2 separate regions of the Homo sapiens genome follow, and region 1 is linked to region 2. Evidence: promoter capture Hi-C in human tissues and cell types (Jung and others, 2019). All regions are on one chromosome and are shown on one strand. Each heading gives the region's core, a stretch centred on a gene start or on the middle of the fragment in contact. The rest is flanking DNA. Distances are from core to core; before and after follow the strand shown.

What was found. The method cuts DNA at HindIII sites, captures the fragments that hold promoters and counts their contacts. A contact is called where the count stands out against the background at its distance.
Region 1: a contact is called between a fragment that was not itself captured here and the fragment with the promoter of CDADC1 in region 2, in 3 of the 25 tissues and cell types used here (hippocampus, mesendoderm cells and spleen).

The regions. Positions count from the first base shown.
Region 1 is chr13:49,137,380-49,140,426 of GRCh38, forward strand. FNDC3A (fibronectin type III domain containing 3A) reads left to right here. Exons shown (of 26, transcript NM_001079673.2): 7 at 1,368-1,426. Among named protein-coding and RNA genes, the nearest start is that of MLNR, 81 kb to the right of the region's middle. The HindIII fragment of the contact is 4,145 bases long and covers 1-3,047 here.
Region 2 is chr13:49,246,457-49,249,199 of GRCh38, forward strand. CDADC1 (cytidine and dCMP deaminase domain containing 1) reads left to right here and starts at 1,469. Exons shown (of 10, transcript NM_030911.4): 1 at 1,469-1,663; 2 at 2,415-2,509. The coding sequence starts at 1,582. LOC105370203 (a long non-coding RNA gene) reads right to left here and starts at 1,384. Exons shown (of 2, transcript NR_135318.1): 1 at 1,179-1,384. RefSeq lists enhancers at 1,330-1,892, 1,362-1,591. The HindIII fragment of the contact is 6,098 bases long and covers 1-2,743 here.

The DNA of each region.
Region 1 (3,047 bases), core at 411-2,910, 110 kb before region 2:
TGTCACCCAGGCTGGAATGCAGTGGCGCAATGTCAGCTCACTGCAACCTCCGCCTCCTGTGTTGAAGCGATTCTCGTGCCTCAGCCTCCTGAGTAGCTGGGACTAAAGGCGCATGCCACCACGCCCAACTACTTTTTGTATTTTTAGTAGAGACAGGGTTTCACCATCTTGGCCAGGCTGGTCTCCAACTCCTAGGCTCAAGCAGTCCACCCACCTTGACCTTCCAGTGTGCTAAGATTACAGGCATGAGCCTACTATATGGACTTTGAGCACTATTATTTGTATATACTTGAATCAATCTCTATAAGGTAAAATATAGCTGGGTTAACAGCCTGTCTTTCATATGCCTACAGTTGTGGAGTTAGTACCCAGTACTTTTGATTGTAATGTTAAGCTTGTAACTACTGCTTACTTTGATTAATGTAGTTTCTATATGTATGTTCTTTTAGGTTTCCTTAATACTGACTATTATCTGTTTGACGTAGATATGCGTATGTAGAAATACATAGATATGCATGGTAGACCATGTCAGGTTCTAAAGGTTTCATCAGAAATGACTATGAACCATACCAACATGTCATTTCACAAGCACCAATAACCACAACTCTATCAGTCCTTGAATATGCTTATCTAAATTGATATTTACTATCAAATAGTGTAGGTAATTAATATATGACTAGGAACTAAAATGCTTCCAACTTTGAGGGAAATATCAAAATGTAAGCCATGTGAACTCTTCCTACCTTCCTTTTCCTTAAAATTTCCATGCCTCACTAACAAATTTCAAATAATGTCTTAACTGTTCATGACTTATATATTAACAACATTTACATAAATGTTCTCCCATTTATTTGAGACCTGATCATCGTTTTCAGCACTGATGTTTCAGAAGAAATTAAGTTAAAGTTTTTTGCCTATCAGTGGTGGCTATAAGTTACAGTCAAGCCAATTATATTTCTAATTTGGGAAACCATAACTAAGGCATGTCATGAAAAAATAGTTAACTTTATTAAGAGGTATGAGATTGACAAATGAGAACTTTCCAGAGAGAATATTCTTACAACCATGAATAAAAATATACTTGATATAAGAAAAATTTGGTTCAGATAGATATAGCTATGTCTAAATATATATAGATATATCTGTATATAGTGGTGTTATAATTAGTAGTCACAGTTAAGATAGAAATAAAAACTAAAGTAGATAAATGCTGAAGGGCCACAAACTGCTGAGTATGAACAAAGGAATAAAAACTAGAAAATAAAAGTCTCAAATACCAACCTAGTTTCAGAATACATATTTAGGGAGAAGAAGGGATTGTATCTAAGTTCTTTTTTTTAAATATTCAAATGTTTTATTTTTTTAAGAAAAAGATGAAGAAACTAAAGCATTTGAAGCACTTCTTTCCAACATTGTCAAACCAGTGGTAAGTATCTTATGTATTTTATTGATGTTTATATTTAATATATTAGCATAAGATGTTCATCCATCAAAATGTAGTTTTTTTCTTTTAACTTTTTATGAAAATAGGATCATACTGTATTCTGTGACAAGCTTTTTCACTCACTATGGTATGCTTTAGCTATCTTTCTATGTCATTACCTGATTCTTTGAAGAGCTACATAGTTTTGTCATTCATTCATCAAATATTTATTGATCCCTTACTATATGCCAATAAATAAAAAACAAATGCACAAACAGAATTCTGTGTGATAGTAAAGATTGCTATTATAGAAATAGGAATGATATGATGAGATTAATAGGAGAGGTTGTTAGGTTAAATAGAGCAATCAGGGAAGCTTTCTCTGACAAGTGAGAAAAAGTGCAAAAGTGGAAGGAATGGGAGAGGGAGAACAGGTGTAAGTAAGCATGGGGAGTTGGACAGAGGGAAAGAACCATTATCACTGGAGTATAGTGAAGGGGAGAAAGATGTGGTGGAAGAAGTAGGCCATAGGACTTTTTCAGCCAGAATAAGGCAATTTAAGATTGATAAGAATATTTTTTGGTTCATAAAACAAACTACTCTTTCCCAACTCTCAGAAACATCCATGGTAAAATGTTTTATACTAAGTTGCCCCAAAAATACTTTGTTTTTCTGAGAAAACAGATTAGAAAAGTTATTATTCTTAGTACCATCTCCATAAAGGCTTTTTAAGCTTATCTTGCCATGTTTTAGGATGTTTGAGTAAGCCAGTTCCTCATCTAATAGACTAATATGGTCCTACTTTTTCTGACAACTCCCAAATAATAGATTTGGTTGCTCTAGCTTTCTTTATTCTAATCTGTTTTCTCTTGAGAATAGAGCATATATGTGTAAATAAATGTAAATTTACACAATTATTTCATAGTAATGGTTAACACAAATTGATTAGCATCAGTCTCTGTTCAGAGTGCTTGGAATGCACATGTGCATTATTTAATACCTGTGACAACCATATATGTACTATTTTCCCTGCTTTACAAATGAGGAAACTGAAGCAACAGTGAGTTTCAATTAGTAGTAGTAGAGCTATGACTGAAATTTAGGCAGTATCCTTCCAAGACCCCAAGTGTATATCACTAGGTTTACTAGAAAAAGAATTTAGTAGGCTTAATAAGATTGATGTTTGAGTGATTTAATAGCTAATGCTAGTAGCATTTACTTGTTGTAGTATATATTAAAAGTATAATTTTCAGGCCAGGTGCAGTGGCTCACACTTTCCCAGTCCTTTGGAAAACCAAGACAAGAAGATCACTTGAGGCCAGGAGTTTGAGACCAGCCTGAGTAATATATTGAGACCTCGTCTCTACAAAAAACAAATACAGATACTACAGACCAAGGGGGCACACACCTGTAGTCCCAGATACTTGGGATGCTGAGGTGGGAGGATCCCTTGAGCCTAGGAGTTCAATGCTGCAGTGAACTAAGATTGTGCCTTTTCACTCCAGCCTGGGTGACAGAGCAAGAACCTGTCTCATAAATAAATAAATATATATATAATTTACAGACAGGAAAAGTAAATCTTAAAGCCAATTCAAAGACTTTCTTACTCAACATTAGGAAGAAC
Region 2 (2,743 bases), core at 219-2,718:
AACTGTTTTCTAGAGTGGTTATGCCATTTTATAGTCCTACCAGCAATGTTTGAGAGATCCGGTTGCTCTGCATCCTCACTAGCATTTAGTGCTGTCAGTACTTGTTATTTTAGCCATTTAAATAGGTGTGTAGTAGAATCTCATTGTGGTTTTAATATACATTTCCCTAATGGCCAATGACACTGAACACTGTTTTACATGTTTATTTGCCATCTGTATATCTTCTTTGGTGAAATGACTATTCAAGTCTTTGATCCATTTTCTAACTGGACTGTTTACTTACTCTGAGTTTATATGGTTCTTTATATATTCTGGATATGAGTCCTTTGTTGGATACATGCTTTGCAAATATTTTCTCCTAGTCCATGGCCTGTCTTTAAACCTTAGTGTTAATTGCCATGAAGGCACTGTCAACAAAGTCTACACTTCAGGAAAGGTGCAGAATGGAGTTCTCTGGATATAGTCAAATCACCTGAAGAGCTTTACCCTCAGAACAGGCGAACTAGAAAAAATTCTACAAGCCAAAGAAATAAATAGCAAGCTGAAAGATAGATCTGAAGAAATTAGCCAGAATGTGGCTCAGAGAAACAAAATGATGCAATATTTTAAAAATAATAATTTAGAACCTCAGAAGGTTTAACCTATGCCTAATAGGAATTCCAGGAGGAGAGTCTAGAGTAATGTTGTCCAATACAGTAGTAGCCAATAGCCACATGTCACTACTTAAAATGTAAATTAATTAAAACTAAATGAAGTTAAAAATGCAGTTCCTTGGTTGTACTGGCCACATTTCAGATGCTCAATAGCCACATGTGGCTGGTGGCTACCATATTGGACAGTGCAGATATAGAATACTACAGGAAATCCTACTGGACAGTGCTGATCTAGGTCATAAAACAAGTCTGAACAAATTTCAAAGAACTGGTATGATACAGATGTTTTGTGGAAATAAACTAGACATTAGAAATTAAAAACAAAATAACTCCTACTGCCTCCTCTCACCTTTTTCCCCATTACAATTCCACCTCTTAATGTCTTCATGTTCTTGATGAGAAGCAGAACGTCCCTACTGTGTTCCATGGCACCAAGTTCCCCAGAACCCGCCAGTCTCTGATGACAGAACATCCTGGACCGCCCAGCTCCACACCCCAACCCAAGAAGTTCTCTAAAACACTGACCATGACAGCCTGGGGTAGGTTTCCACTTTAACATTCTGACCAAAATTCTCAACTCGATGCAGTCAGAGTCTGCGCAACCTGGGACCTCGAGCCAAGAAATCCTCAAGTGACCTTACTTGGCAAAACCAACAAAACAACCAAATACAGGTCTCAAGCGATTTACAGCTCGGTGCTTAACTCGGTCACCGGCCGAGGGGCAGCCCTCTGGCGCCAAAGCCCCGCCTCTCTATGACGTCACACGAGGAGCCCTGAAGTGGCGGTCAAGCTTGAGGCGTCATCTGGCTGCGCCTAGTGGGCCGTTGCCTTACAGTTGCTGAGAGGAGGCGAGAGGCGGGGGCGCTAGGGCCGAGATCATGTCTGACTGGGAGAGGTTTCCTTGGCAGCAGAGGACGCTAGGTTTGGGATGAAAGAAGCTGGGCAGATGCAAAATCTGGAGAGCGCGAGGGCCGGGCGGTCAGTCAGCACCCAGACTGGCAGCATGACCGGTGAGTGTCCGGGACCCTGCTCCCGCCACCCTACCTTTCGCTCTGCCCTGTGCGTCTCCCGTCATTGAACTCCAGATTCCTTGTCTGAGCCTCTTTGCCTCCCCTGCTGCTTTTGGATGTCTCCTGCCCGCCCTCTGCGTGTCCCCTCCGCGGTCGCCAGGACCAATCGGCTCGGTCGCACTGGCTTTTGAAGTCTCGCTTTTTACCCCTGTTAGCTACTTCTCACAGGACCTAGAGCTGGGGCCTCTGAGGTCAAAGAGCCTGAACATTTCCAAACGGCGCTTTTGCCTTGATTTCCAAATTAACCGCACGTGACGCTTTCCTGTATTTCGACTGCTTTACCGTCGAAGGTCAGCGCATTTTTCGGGTTGTGTTCTAATCGCTTTCCTTTTAGCAACGCCCCATCACAGTCCAAAGAAAAGCTTGCACCACGACGACGTCAGATGCGAAGACTTTTCACAGCTTGCTTTGGGTTGTCCCCCTCAGCTATGTGTATTAGCTGTACCGTTTTTTCCTGCAGGGTGAGGGCTGGAGAAAGAAGGCTCAACTTTTTAAGTGGAGAAGGAGGTAGCCACGACTAAGGCTGAAGCGTCTACTGCTAAGATACCTCTGACTCTCTTGTCCCCTATCTTTTTCTGTGCCTCTTGCGAAAGCAGCTGGGCTTAGGCTGCAGCACCTAAGTGGCATTGAGATTGGCTCCCTTTTTCACCATTAGTAACAAAGTTTAAAGTGTTTGTCGTCTCTTTTGTAGGTCAGATACCAAGGCTTTCTAAAGTCAACCTTTTCACTCTGCTCAGCCTCTGGATGGAGCTCTTTCCAGCAGAAGCCCAGCGGCAAAAATCTCAGGTATAATTTGTTTCATAGTTTTTCCCCTTAGAAAAGCAGTGGTTTAAAATCTGAGTTTATTGCTCCAGTTTCTGTCATACCTAAAACCAAACTTAACAAGGCTTAAGATTTAAAAAATATCTTTATTGATTAACATGACACTTTATAATTCCCAGCCGTAATAAGTCATCTTCCATTCTAAAAATACTTTCTGAGAATACCATGTTTATCGGGTACTAATGGTATTCATATGTC